3 separate regions of the Homo sapiens genome follow, and regions 1 and 2 are each linked to region 3. The links are contacts of gene promoters, found by promoter capture Hi-C in human tissues and cell types (Jung and others, 2019). All regions are on one chromosome and are shown on one strand. The core of a region is centred on a gene start or on the middle of the fragment in contact, and the rest is flanking DNA. Distances in the headings are between cores, read along the strand shown. Region 1 overlaps HACD2 (3-hydroxyacyl-CoA dehydratase 2). Region 2 overlaps ADCY5 (adenylate cyclase 5). Region 3 holds the start of ADCY5 (adenylate cyclase 5).

Evidence for each region. The method cuts DNA at HindIII sites, captures the fragments that hold promoters and counts their contacts. A contact is called where the count stands out against the background at its distance.
Region 1: a fragment that was not itself captured here is called in contact with the fragment with the promoter of ADCY5 in region 3 in 1 of the 25 tissues and cell types used here (adrenal gland).
Region 2: a contact is called between a fragment that was not itself captured here and the fragment with the promoter of ADCY5 in region 3, in 3 of the 25 tissues and cell types used here (dorsolateral prefrontal cortex, hippocampus and stomach).

The regions. Positions count from the first base shown.
Region 1 is chr3:123,490,256-123,494,630 of GRCh38, reverse strand. It overlaps HACD2 (3-hydroxyacyl-CoA dehydratase 2), which reads left to right. Exons shown (of 7, transcript NM_198402.5): 7 at 1-3,077. Among named protein-coding and RNA genes, the nearest start is that of ADCY5, 43 kb to the right of the region's middle. The HindIII fragment of the contact is 7,460 bases long and covers 1-4,375 here.
Region 2 is chr3:123,409,077-123,413,503 of GRCh38, reverse strand. The region is part of intron 1 of ADCY5 (adenylate cyclase 5); the gene reads left to right. Among named protein-coding and RNA genes, the nearest start is that of ADCY5, 38 kb to the left of the region's middle. RefSeq lists enhancers at 1-331, 1,143-1,668. The HindIII fragment of the contact is 4,514 bases long and covers 887-4,427 here.
Region 3 is chr3:123,447,840-123,452,190 of GRCh38, reverse strand. It overlaps ADCY5 (adenylate cyclase 5), which reads left to right and starts at 3,101. Exons shown (of 21, transcript NM_183357.3): 1 at 3,101-4,351. The coding sequence starts at 3,646. RefSeq lists an enhancer at 4,040-4,351. The HindIII fragment of the contact is 15,282 bases long and covers 1-4,351 here.

The sequences.
Region 1 (4,375 bases), core at 1,361-3,860, 43 kb before region 3:
TAGAAAGGGATTTGGCATTTTATGTCCTTCTGTGTCCTTCATGTATCTGATCAATGAAGACCTGTAACACTAAGTACTTGAGAGTTACAGTCTGAATAATGAAGTCGTACCAGCTGAATAGCCCAGCTTGCAGTATAGTTATGTTTCAGTCTGCAGTGTGTTTAGCATTCCCTTGTCAAAGTGCTTGACTGCATGCTGGAAACTTTGTATTTTTGAAGCGGCAAACTCTGTTCTCTGGAATGCTCTGAAGTTATGGCTGGGACCTATCCCCTCACATCTAATGAATGAATTATAAAATGTATATGTCTATGAAGCTTCGGGGTAGTGCCTGTAATCAGAAAACAACTTAGAACCCTTTTGTTTGTTTCCAATTGAGTCATTACTGCCTGCCACTAAGAAACGTGCTTGAATCTAATAAGTATGTGTGTACCGTAAAGAATATATCTTATCTGGAGCTCAGCCTCAATCATGTCTTAACAAAATGACAGGTCTCAGAAAGGGGGAGCTCAATAGCTCAAAAGTGACAAGTCCTTTTCACAGCACCATTCTCAGAACACCTCTGAGTAACGTGTTTGCCAGTAGCTATTCTCACTGATGCACTGATGGCCCTGAAGAAGCGGATCCAGTCACATAGGAAAGGAGGCTGTGTTAGTGAAAGCACATGGAAGGTGTTGCTTTAGAAAGGTAGTCAGGAAAAACATTCAGGAATAGATTTATACACCATTATTGTTTTATTTTTAAATTTTCATTCACTCTTCTGTTTGGATACTTTTGCTAATTAACTTCCTATGTTAATTTCCACCAAGCTATAAGTCCATAGTCAGTAAAACATTCCCCTTGGGCTGTCATGAGCTAAAAGCAGTGTCATCTCCGCATGTTGGAGCAGCCAAGAAATAGTTTGGTACTACCGACATTGTCTAATCCATGTCACATCCTCATACAATTTAATTGCTCAACCATGCATTTAAAACTCCTCAAGAAAGGATTGGTACTGCAACTGTAGGTAAACTGAAAAAAAATAAGAAAGAAAGAGTTGGATGAAAATGTGAAAGCCCAAGTTTAGATGTGCATTAAGTATTAAATAGCACAGTATCTTCTTCATGGAGCCTTTTTTCCTCCCCCATCCCCTGCAGCTGCCTTTTTTTGGGGGCAGGGTGGGGGTTGATGTTGAACTTTAAGAGTTTAAAAGTTTAGCTTATTGAGTAGTTGTCATTTAAAATATAATTGCGAATATCAGAAAACTCATACTGGAAAACTAAATTTTTTTTTTCTCTTGAGACGGAGTCTCGCTCTGTTGCCCAGGCTGGAGTGCAGTGGCGCGATCTCAGCTCACTGCAAGCTCCACCTCCCGGGTTCACGCCATCCTCCTGCCTCAGCCTCCTGAGTAGCTGGGACTACAGGTGCCTGCCACCACACCCAGCTAATTTTTTTTGTATTTTTAGTAGAGACGGGGTTTCACCGTGTTAGCCAGGATGGTCTTGATCTCCTGACCTCGTGATCCACCCGCCTCAGCCTCCCAAAGTGCTGGGATTGCAGGCATGAGCCACTGCACCCAACCCCTGGAAAACTAAATTTTTAAGTGCTTATTTTTATAGAAGTTTGAAAATTTAATGCAGGCAGGTGTGTAATAAATTATTTTTGAATTGAACATTAAAATTCTGCTTCTTAAAGTCAGCACTCAACTTGGACATGTTGAAATTAGAATCTATTCTTGTATTTGATAGACAAAATATGTGGGAAAGATTTTTTGCATGACTTTTCTCTCATTTTATTCTTCCATAATGTATTTCTACTATAAAATAGAATCAACTTGGGTTATATTTGTCATTTACTTTGTTCTGTTAGATTTTTTCAGTTGTTTTTGGAAAAATTCTAGAAATCAGGATGAAAAATGCAGCTTTTCCAGGGTTGCTGGACTGGGGGTTTTATTTGGGCCTCCTTATTATAATTTGTCACTACTTATAAAAAACATTCTGTTGCAAACAGTGGTGTTGCATTGAATTGAACTTTGGCAATGAGAACACAGCACACAGCTCCCTTTTCAAAAAGGGTCTCAACCCCAGTGTGTATTTTTGTACATCAACATTTAGAATACTTATGGCAGATAAGTAAGGCATGTCACTGTGTCCTTCAGTAACCTCTCTCAGTAACTGGTTTCTTTATCCCTAACATGAATTCATTTCTCCTTTGAAGTCATTTATTATTTTATAAATTGAGAACAACCACACCACCAAATGTCACACCTTCTTATAAAGTGTGAACAAGGAAGGTCATGTTTTTGTGGGTATTTTGTCAGACTTAGAGGTTTCATTTCAGGGCATAGTCAAAGGCATCATCCTCCCAACTACCCACTTGATTATGTATTTCAGATCCCTCCGTGGGGGCCTTCTTCTGACAGAGAATTCTTTGAGGTCCGCAGTAGTGCTTTTGTCAGCACAGACTGCTAATCTACATCTTGCTGCGTTCTGTTTGCTGAGGTTGGGCTTATTCATTTAACACATACCAACCATTATCCAGAGGCACCATGGAGAGTTAGTCATGGAATAAAGCACTGTCCTTGCAGATGAAAAAAGTCTCCAGAGCAGACTTCTGACAGGAAAGGTTTAGATGCTGGAGAGTTGAAGAGGTGTAAGAAGAGATCGTGCCCTCATTTTTCACTTATTTTTTTGGTTATTCATTTATAATAAAAGGTTGGCATTGATATGGTACAACCTGCAAATTACTTGCAGTTCTGAGTTTCAGATAAAACATTATAAAACATTAAATTCAATACATACTGCTCCTTTGAAATTTGGGTAAAAAATTGTACAACCGTATATATAGTCATTTTTGTATTTTTTCTATGTTGTGAAAACCAAAATTGTAATTTTATAAGTCTTTGATTCACTAAAATTATATAATTTAAATGTATTTTTTGTATATTTAGAAATAAGGAGTCCAGAGACTACGCTTAACTTTCTATGCATGCATTTGAAAGCTGTTTTTACCTGATAATGTAGTAATAAGTTGTATTCATAAAATACTGATCTGTGTTGCATTTCAAAATAAACTGGTGTGTGCTCTGCCTGGATTTGAAATACCTACCAGTGAGTGCAGTGATTTTTCATAGTCAGTAGGCCTGAATGTGGTGTTGCAGGAATATGGGAGAATTTCAGTTCAATTATGGACTCCAGCTCTTTGACAATTTTAAAATCTAATTCTGCTATTCATAATGGTTCTGCACTTACAGGAAAGACAGATTATATTAAGAGGTTTCCAAAAAGTCCTTCCCTGCCAGTCAGTCTTCAGGCTAAGCCAGTCTGCAAGCTGGCTGCAGAGGGACAAGGGGTTCCTCATGCAAGTGACCAGGGAATCTAAGATATTAATCAGCATGGGGTTGAGGAACCTTGTCTTATAACAAGCTGGGGTTTTGTTAGTGTAACTTTTCTTTTTTTGTTTTGAGACAGAGTTTCGCTGTTGTTGCCCAGGCTGGAGTGCAATGGCACGATCTCAGCTCACTGCAACCTTCACCTCCCGGATTCAAGCGATGTTTCTGCCTCAGCCTCCCAAGTAGCTGGGATTACAGGCACCCGCCACCACACCTGGCTAATTTTTTGTATTTTTAGTAGAGATGGGGTTTCACCATGTTGGCCAGGCTGGTCTCGAACTCCTAACCTCAGGTGATCCACCCGCCTTGGCCTCCCACCACGCCTGGGATTACAGGTGTGAGCCACCACGCCCAGCCTGTTAGTGTAACTTTTCTAACAGAAGTTCAGCGGGAGATCCTGTTGCCCAGCACTGTTCATCTTACATTAAAGCAAGATGTGGTGAAGTTCAAGTACCTCATTCTGAAAATGCCTCCAAACACAGGAATCCCAGGAGTGGCCCCCCCTTACTCAGGCTCGCAGTAAGAAGTGGTGGGAAGGACACTGCCTTGGGGTGTCCTCCGCTGGGTCACAGCTGATCTAGCTCTAGGCCTCTGGTGCTGGGTATGTTCTAGTCACTTTTCCCAGTGACGACTTGATCATGGTGCCTGTAGCAGTGATGTGCTCCCCACCTGAGTCTGCCAGCTCTTTCTCAGATCATCACCACGGCCTAAGAGTGTGGTCTTTGTTCCAAAGGAGAACACTTCCCTTCTAAATGCCATCTGATCGCAGCCTAGATGTTCCCAGCTCAGAGGTTAGACCACCTCTCCTCATGTAGAGCCTATTCAGCTTCAGAGGTTGGCTTTTTCATTTATGAAAAAAGTATTGCAGCTGAAACTGCGGAACAGATGGTAAAGTTAATAGTAGAGGCTACTCAGAAAACACAACCTTTACAATGTTAGCATGGTAATGGAGACAAGGGCTTTCCAATTTGTCATTGTCATATTTTGTGGCAATTATGTGTACTATGT
Region 2 (4,427 bases), core at 1,894-4,393, 39 kb after region 3:
TCAGGTTTCTGAGGGGAGGCCCTCTGCAAGCCAGGTTTTCTGTGATTCTACTGTGGAAATTCTGTCTGGGAGGGGGCATCTCCCTCCCTGCTCAGGCTGGGATCAGAGGCCTCCAGAAATCAACCACCCTTCCTTGGGCCCAGCCCACCCAGGGGCCTGAGCTCATGGCTCAGCCATCTCTCTGGTCAGGGACGGGAAGTGCTCCTGCCTGCTTCAGTTTAGGGTTTGGGGAAATGTTCCGTGTTCCGTGTTTTAGGCACGCTCAGCTCCTGCCTTCCGAAAGGTCACTGCTTAAGAAAACAGCCTGGTCCTTGGCTTGGCCCATCTGCTGGGAGATGGGCTGTGATTCCTCTCCCACGAACTGGCAGAGTTTCCAAGATGAAAATGGGAAAACAGAACAGGGGAGTGAGCCTGGTCCCGTCCCGGAGGAGCCGGCGTCATGAAGCCTGTGTCTGCTGAGGACGGTGAGGTCGTCTCCAGGGGGCTCCGTGACTTCTTAGAGATGTGGATTTAACCAGGAGACAGTGCAGGCTGGCCTGTGCCGCCTGCTCTATCAGGCTGTGCTGGGCATCTGTGCCGGGAGAGGGACGCCGTCACCAGCTGTTCTGACAGGCACGTTCCTGGACGGGGCTATTTAGGGCAGTCATTGAACGAAGCACATAACCATGACTGCCTTTTTTTTTTTTTGTCATTGTTTGTTTGTTTTGTTTTTAGCTTGAGGAAGGATCCAGATGTTTCTAGTTCTGCAGATGTCTTTTTGTGGTAAAGCTGAAGAACAGAGATAGGAAATGAGGGATGGGGGAGTTGGATCCCAGAGGCTTCCACATCACCAGATGACCCTCAATGGGTGCTCAGGTTCCTTCTGCACCAGACCCCCATTAACCCCGACTCCCAGCTCCCCAGCACATCTTCCTCCAAGGTTTTTGCTCTTAGCCTTTCCGAGCTCTATCTGCCACCGCAACACAGAGGCTGTCAGTGCTGTAACTGCTGTCTTCATACGCTTGAAATCTCACTCCCAAACCATCCCTGCAGCCCTGGCCCCTTTGGGAACCCCAGTGTACATGGTTTCCCGGCTTTTGGAGGACACAGTGGTTGCGTTGTCTGGCATCTATTCAGAGTTGGGGGAGAGCCCGCAGGGACGTCCTATTGGGTCCTTTCTCTGTTACTGTCTGTTCTTACTTCTCCCACCACACCCTGTCTCCTGTTGGGGCGAATACCTTCTCTAAGGGCAGCCTGGTGGCAGGAATCTGCAGTAGGACACAGGGCCCCCAGGCCATGGCTAGAGAGGCCTATGAGGCAAAGTGTCCTCTTTCCTGCCGCAGCGTGCCCCTTGTGGTCAGGAAGCCTCGAGGTCTAGCTTCGTTCCCTCCTGCTGTCTCTTCCCATCCTCCCCTATGTGGAGGAAGGTTTTATGAGTGGGGGCTTGTTGGCACCTTCTCAAAAGGAGAGGGCAGGCATCCTGAGCTCCTGGATGCCGGCAGAGCCTAGGGTAGGATAGTTCAGATGCCTGTCTGGGGAGAGGGCATGTTCCAAAGGTGGAGTTCTGTGTGGGTGGGCTTGGTACCTGGGCCCACAGGCTGCGGGGATGGACACTGGGCTATGCGGGGGCAGGGGATGGGTGACAGGGCCACAGTGAGTCCACCTGGGACTCTGTTGTGCTGTCAACGGTGGACAGCCCCACGTGGGCCTGCTCACCTGTATTGACATGTCAGCTCAGGTGTCCCATTAGGTTAAGCTGTGAGCCCAGAGGCTTTGGTCCCAGGGCCACCCTGGTCACCAGGCTGTGAGGACAGGAGCAACTGTTGCCCCACCCTGCTTTGCCTCTGGAACGAGTCCTGGGGTTGGATTGGGGGTGCTGGGCCTGGCACTCTGTGGGAGCTTGGACTTAAAACATGTTGCTGGCTGGGGGTTGGGGATAAGAGGCAGGGGAAGGAGAAAGATAGGCACTGGGATCCTGGGCCAGGCTTAGGCCTTTGTCCTTTGTCCCCTCAGGCTGAGTCAGCATCTGTTGTCTCAGGAGTTTCTGTCTCAGTTCAGGCACTATGAGTGTTACCTCCCCTAGGTGCCGAGGACAGGCCCCCAGCCCGGTGATCTAACTCCTTAGTCAGTGATCGGTGAGGCCTGTCAGGGGTCTGCTCCCTGCTTATTTGAGGCTCTGGTTTCCCTTCTGAACTGAAGGGAATCCAGTCCACTTGCCAGACACTTGTTTTGCTCTTATACTTGCTCAGCCCTCTGAGTGGACCCCAATGGTGGATGGCAGGCTCTCCTCGAAGCAGGCACTAGTACGCCCTTGACTGTGGATTCCAGGAGGCCCAGGGAAACTGCAATGGAAGAGGTTGGTGGAGGCACAGGGCAAGGAAGAAGAGCTTTCTGGCAGACTGAAACAGGAGGCTCATGGAGGGAACGGGTTAGGCTTGGTAGTAGAGGGCATATTTGACAAACCTGAGTGATTTGGTATAGCTGCTGCTTTGGAGATAAGTGGGTGCTGGAATGGCTAGTGCTAAGGAATTTAGGCCGTATCCAGTAGGTGATAGCTATTTAAGTAGTTTGAATAAGGATGGGGTGAGATGGCTCACGTCTGTAATCCCAGCACTTTGGGAGGCCCAGGCAGAAGGATCACTTGAGGCCAGGAGATTGAGAGCAGCCTGGGCAACATAGTGAGACTGCATCTCTACAAAAAATGAAAAAGTTAGCCCAGCAAGGTGATACATGCCTGTAGTCCTAGCTACTCAAGAGGCTGAGGTGGGAGGATCGCTTGAGCTCAGGAGTTCGAGGCTGCAGTAAGCTATGATTGCACCACTGCACTCCAGCCTGGGCGACAGAGCTAGTGAGATTCTACCTCCAAAAAAAAAAGAATGGATGTGATGGTGATTAATCTAAGAGCTGCCATTGTTGAGCCTTTATTTTATGTCCTTTATGTGTCCTGTTAGATTTCATTCTTACTGCAGCTTTCTAAGGTGGACGTTATGTTGGTTTTCACCTGGTCATTCCAAAGGCAGACAGAGTGCAGGATGTGGCCAAGGGTGTTGGAATAATAGGAGATTAGCCCTTCCCCAACAGGCAGTTCACCTTGGGATATGGCTCTACCATTCCTACTTATGCCTGGGAGGTACGGGGTGGCCCCAGGCTGCTGTGTTGAGGAGGAGGAGGAGGAATTGGGGGATAAGGGTTGGGGGAGGAGGAGGAGGGGGATGGAACTCTGCCAAGACAGAGCTGCCCTGGAGGGAGTCTTTGTGGGCTGTTTCCTGAGGAGTTCTACAAGGGAAGCTTCCAGTCACTCTGCCATCCTTAAGGGTGATGAGCTGTGTTCCAGCCCCCATCCTTCCCTCCCTTTCTCATTCTCCTAGTTCTGGTGGAGGCCCTGAGGGCAGATGGGGGCCTCTCACTGGGTTGACCGGATCCAGCACCTGCTCATGTGGGAGAGCAGAGGGACCTCAGGGCTATGGGGCCACACTGCCTCAGGGAACACAGGTCTCAGTTGGGGAAGTGGGTGTGGGAGGACCTGTAGAAAAAGAGATTTATTACTGCTCTTTCCCTGCCAGCTGCGTGTTTGCCTTTCCCAGGTCAGTGGGCTGGTGACGAGAGAGGGCAAGTTAATTTATATCCAGGTGATAGATTAGCTCCTCTAACCACAGGGAACTTTCTCAGCTCATCCAACTGGGGCTTGGAGGGTGGGAGGGGCCGGTGAGTGAGGGAATGTCTCTGGGGCAGTTTCTACCTTCTGCCCGGCCTCTGTTAAGGAAGCAGGTGAGGTGCAAGAGGGGCATCTCAACATGAGTGGGCATCTTAACCTCCTGGAGAGCTTGCTGGGCTCCCAGAGTTTCTGAGTCACAAGGTCAGAGGTGGAGCCCAATAATTTGCATGTCTAGCTGCTTCCTGGGTGATGCTGCAGCTGCTCCTGCTCTGGATATCCCACTTGGAGAACCACTGTGCTAGATAATCAGTTGAGGATTTTTGGTGGTGCTTCCCTTACCTATCTGTGCTGCTTGGACAGGACTATTAGCAGGAACACATCCTTTCCACCTGTGAAAGCTGCATCCCACCTTTAGACCCTGACTCCAAGGATACCTTCTCCAGTGGCCACCCTGAGAACTAGCATGTGCTGGGCCGTCTGTCCTTTTTCCCCACATGCTACCTGGTTTCATGGCCTGCGACTGTACACACCTGGAGTATTGGGACTCACTCTTACCAATCCCTGGGGGCCCCCATGGCACCTAGCACAGCCCCTAGCACATAGAGGAACTAGGTGTTGAGTGGATATAGTTAAAGCAGACCCTTATAAGGGTTAAACTTTTCTAAAAACCCAAGGTCAGATGGGGAGCAGATTTTATAAAGACTTTCCAGGCTGGTTATAGGCAGAGCCAGATCAAGAGCCTGGCTGCCTGTATAGATAATTTTATAGAAAATATTTCATAAGCTTAAAACAC
Region 3 (4,351 bases), core at 1,852-4,351:
CTGGGTTCAAGCAATTCTCCTGCCTCAGCCTCCCAAGTAGCTGGGACTACAGGCACACACCACCACGCCTAGCTAATTTTTGTATTTTTAGTAGAGACAGGGTTTCACCACGTTGGCCAGGATGGTTTCGATCTCTTGACCTCGTGATCCGCCTGCCTTGGCCTCCCAAAGTGCTAGGATTAGAGTCGTGAGCCACCATGCCCGGCCTTTTTATTTTTTATTTTTTTTTTGAGACAGAGTCTCATTCTGTCAACCAGGCTGGAGTGCAATGGCATGATCTCGGCTCACTGCAACCTCCACCTCCCGGATTCAAGTGATTCTCCTGCCTCAGCCTCCAGAGTAGGATTACAGGCTCACACCGCCACGCCCGGCTAATTTTTGTATTTTTAGTAGAGACGGGTTTCACCATGTTGGCCAGGCTGGTCATGAGCGCCAGACCTCAGATGATCTGCCTGCCTCAGCCTCCCAAAGTGCTGGGGTTACAGGCATGAGCCACCATGCCTGGCTGGACAAACTTTTTGATTCCCTAAGTCTGTTTTCTCATCTTTATAGTGGGGATAACCTTCCTCAGAATAGTTATCTGACAATAAAATGTTTACAGACATACAACAGTTGCTTAGTAAATATTAATTAGTCCATCCTCCCTTTCTTAGACATCCTTCCCTGCTAGACCCAGGTTTGACTTCCAGGCCCTTGTTTGGCCCTCACAGTGGGAAGTGACACCCCCTCTCTCTGAATGCCCGAGGTGCTGTTTGCACTTCTATTGAACCCAGAACTTTGCTCTGACCTAGAGATAGTGGCTAGCTCTTCTCCGTCACTGACTTGTTCGACTTGTTCCCGGTCTAGAGTTTGGTCATCTCTCTATCCTGGTAGCAACTAGCACAATGCTTTGTACATTGAGGGTTCTCTAGAATTTTTATTGACTAAATTCATGTTTTTTTTTACAACTTGGCTAATAGTGGAATACTCAAAGGCTGGATTACCCAAGGGTTAGTTTATTCTGACCTCTTGGAATTTTTCTCCTCCCAATTTGTAACTCTGGCAAGGTTTATCTTCCAGTCTGCAGAGATGACCAGCAGAGAGAGACAAAGAAGGAAGCTCACTTAGACCTCTAGGCTCCCTGTCAGAAGCTCTGGGGAGAGAGTTGGAGGATGAAGAAGGGGAAAGTAAAAGCTGTTTACCCCCAGGCTGGGTAGGAGTGTGGTCTCCCACCTCTCCAGGGTTTAGACTGTCAGAACTCCAGCAGGACAGCTTGGGGGCAAAGGGAATTGGGTAGACACATCATTCTACAGGCCTACGTCCTTTTTGCCTAGCAGTCGAATCCTTCTCTCCATTCCTGCCTCTTGTGGCTGGTGCTGTGTATCTAGCCATTTTCCCCTTCCCCTGCTTCCCCCCAAGTGGGCACGCCAGCTTGCTCAGGTGCCCATCCTTCCTGCTAACACCTTGTTAGGTTAGGGAGGCAGTCTGGCGCTGACGAAGGACCTTTGGGTGCCAAGTTAGTAGACCTGTGTGACCTATAGCAAGTTGAATAAGCTCCCAGAGCCTCAGTTTCTGCATCTATAAGCTGGGAATAGCTACACGGTCTCTGTCCTCTGTCTCATCCTAGGATTACTGACGGGAACCAAGTGAGATTTATGAGACTTTACGAACAGGCAAAGAGCGCTTTATAAAAGCCAGGTGTTTCCAGTGTTCACTGTGGGGCTTTCTCCTGGTAACTACCCACCAAAGCCTCCCTGTCCGCCCCGCCCCGGCTGCATCGGCCTCACCCACTGCATCACCATCTTTTCCATCACTGTCTTCCTGCGTCTCAGAAGTCCTGTTTCTGCATCTCCCCTGTCCATTTCCGGGTCTGGCTCTCCGGCCCCTGAGACCCCTCCAGGGACTCTGTTCTCCTTCTCCTTGAGGCACTCGCTGCCCAGGCGCCCCCCACCCGGTGCGCCCTCCTTTGGCACAGCCGCCGGGCCAGAGAATCGCCCAATAAGAGCGCCGGACTGTAGTCTGACAGCTCCGGAAGCGGCCAATCGAGCCGGGCCAGGGAAGGGGGGCGCAGCGCCGGGGCTGAAGTTGGGTTAAATGGGGGGAGGGGGATTAAAGGGGGATACAAAAGAGGGGAGCTAGGACTGGGGGCGCTGGAGCCCTGGCCGGGGGCGGGGGAAGACCGCGCTCCACCCAGGTCTGGTGACGGGACCGCAGGCTGGATGCGGCTCCTAGTCCCAGGGAGGGAGGGGCGCAGCGAGAATTTTAGGTGAGGAAGGGGAACTGGGGTGCCCGCGGCCAGGCCTGAGGATGCCCGCGGGGCGCCGAGGCTGGGGCCATGGCCAGGCCGGGGGCGGAGGCGGCCTCGCGCGGCTGTGAGCCGAGGCCCGGGCGGCGCGGGGGGCGGGGAGGCAGCGGGAGGAGGGGATGCGGAGGGCTCTCCGGCGGCGGCGAGCGGGCGAGAAGGGAGGAGCGGCGCGAGCGGCCGGAGCGGCGCAGGGCCCGAAGCGTGCATGGCGCGCCCTGAGCCGGGCTCCCGCGGGCCCCCCCGGAGCGCCTCTCGGGCGCCGCGGCTCTCAGGCGGGCCCCTCTGGGCCGGCTGCTTCTGAGCCCCGGCGCTGGATCTCTGGATGCCTTACTCCCCGGGAGAAGCCTGCCTGCGTCGGGGCAGAACCGCGGCAGCGCTGCGCCGGATTCCGTCCTCCGCCTAGTCGTTCCGCGCCGGCCGCGGTGGGCCCGCAGCCGGCGACGAGGAGCTTGGGGCTTGCGAAGCGGGCGCGACAGCTCTCCGGGCCGGCAGGTCCCGGCCGGCCCCGCTCCGTTTGCGGGAAAGGGAGAGGCGAGAGGGGAAGGGCCGCACCGCAGGAGCCGGTCCCTGACCCGGACCCCGCCCCCTGCGCGGACGCGCCGAAGGCTCGGCTCGGCTTTCGCCGGGGCCACGCATCCACTCTCGCCGCGAGAGGTGGGGGATGCGGGCAACGGCCCCCCCGGGCTCCAGGACCCTCCCCCCCGGGGCTCCGGAGCTGTTGCTCCGCCCGTCGCCCCCTCCCCCGTCCTCTCCACCTCCCATCCCACCTCCCCACCCCTCGTAAGAAAATAATGCTGGCTGGCGCCCGCACCTCCCAGTCGCTCCCAGTCCGCTGCGAGGAAAGCGCACCCGCAGTGTCTCTTCGCCGGGACCCCCGCCGAGCCGCCCTCGCCGCCGCCGAGCCCCGAGAGCAGCTGGGCTCCGCTTAGGCGGAATCAGCGAGCGCCGCGCCCGGGCACTGCCGGCCCGAGGAGGCACCGCCCGCAAGGACACCACTCCGTCCCGTCTCGTCCGCAACTCCGGCCCTCGTCGAGCTCGACGCGAGCCAGGATCCCGGACGTCTCTCCGCGTGCGGCGCAGCAGCAGCCAGACCAGTCCCTGCGACCCCACCTCGGAGGCAACTCCATTTCGGACCTGGGACTTCTGACGCGGATCCTCAGCTACTTCTCACCTCGGGGCTGTGCCCTCCTCCTCCGCTCAGGACGGGGGTGCCAAGATGCCCCGCTGCAGCGCAGGGCCCCGGGCCGCCCCCGACGTGTGACCCTAGCCTGGTCCCCCTGCTCGGCCGTCCGCCCTCCCCTTGGAGACCCCCGGCCCGGCTTCCGGGGGAGGAGGAAGGAGACGACGAGGCCGAGGGGGGGATGTCCGGCTCCAAAAGCGTGAGCCCCCCGGGCTACGCGGCGCAGAAGACTGCGGCGCCGGCGCCCCGGGGAGGCCCCGAACACCGCTCTGCGTGGGGCGAGGCCGATTCCCGCGCGAATGGCTACCCCCATGCCCCCGGGGGCTCTGCCCGCGGCTCCACCAAGAAACCCGGGGGGGCGGTGACCCCGCAGCAGCAGCAGCGCCTGGCCAGCCGCTGGCGCAGCGACGACGACGACGATCCTCCGCTGAGCGGTGACGACCCCCTGGCCGGGGGCTTCGGCTTCAGCTTCCGCTCCAAGTCCGCCTGGCAGGAGCGCGGCGGCGACGACTGCGGTCGCGGCAGCCGCCGGCAGCGGCGGGGCGCGGCCAGCGGGGGCAGCACCCGGGCGCCCCCTGCGGGCGGCGGCGGCGGCTCGGCGGCGGCGGCTGCCTCGGCGGGCGGGACGGAGGTGCGCCCTCGCTCGGTGGAGGTGGGTCTGGAGGAGCGGCGGGGCAAGGGGCGCGCGGCCGACGAGCTGGAGGCCGGCGCCGTCGAGGGCGGCGAGGGGTCCGGGGATGGCGGCAGCTCGGCGGACTCGGGCTCGGGCGCGGGGCCCGGCGCGGTGCTGTCCCTGGGCGCCTGCTGCCTGGCGTTGCTGCAGATATTCCGCTCCAAGAAGTTCCCGTCGGACAAACTGGAGCGGCTGTACCAGCGCTACTTCTTCC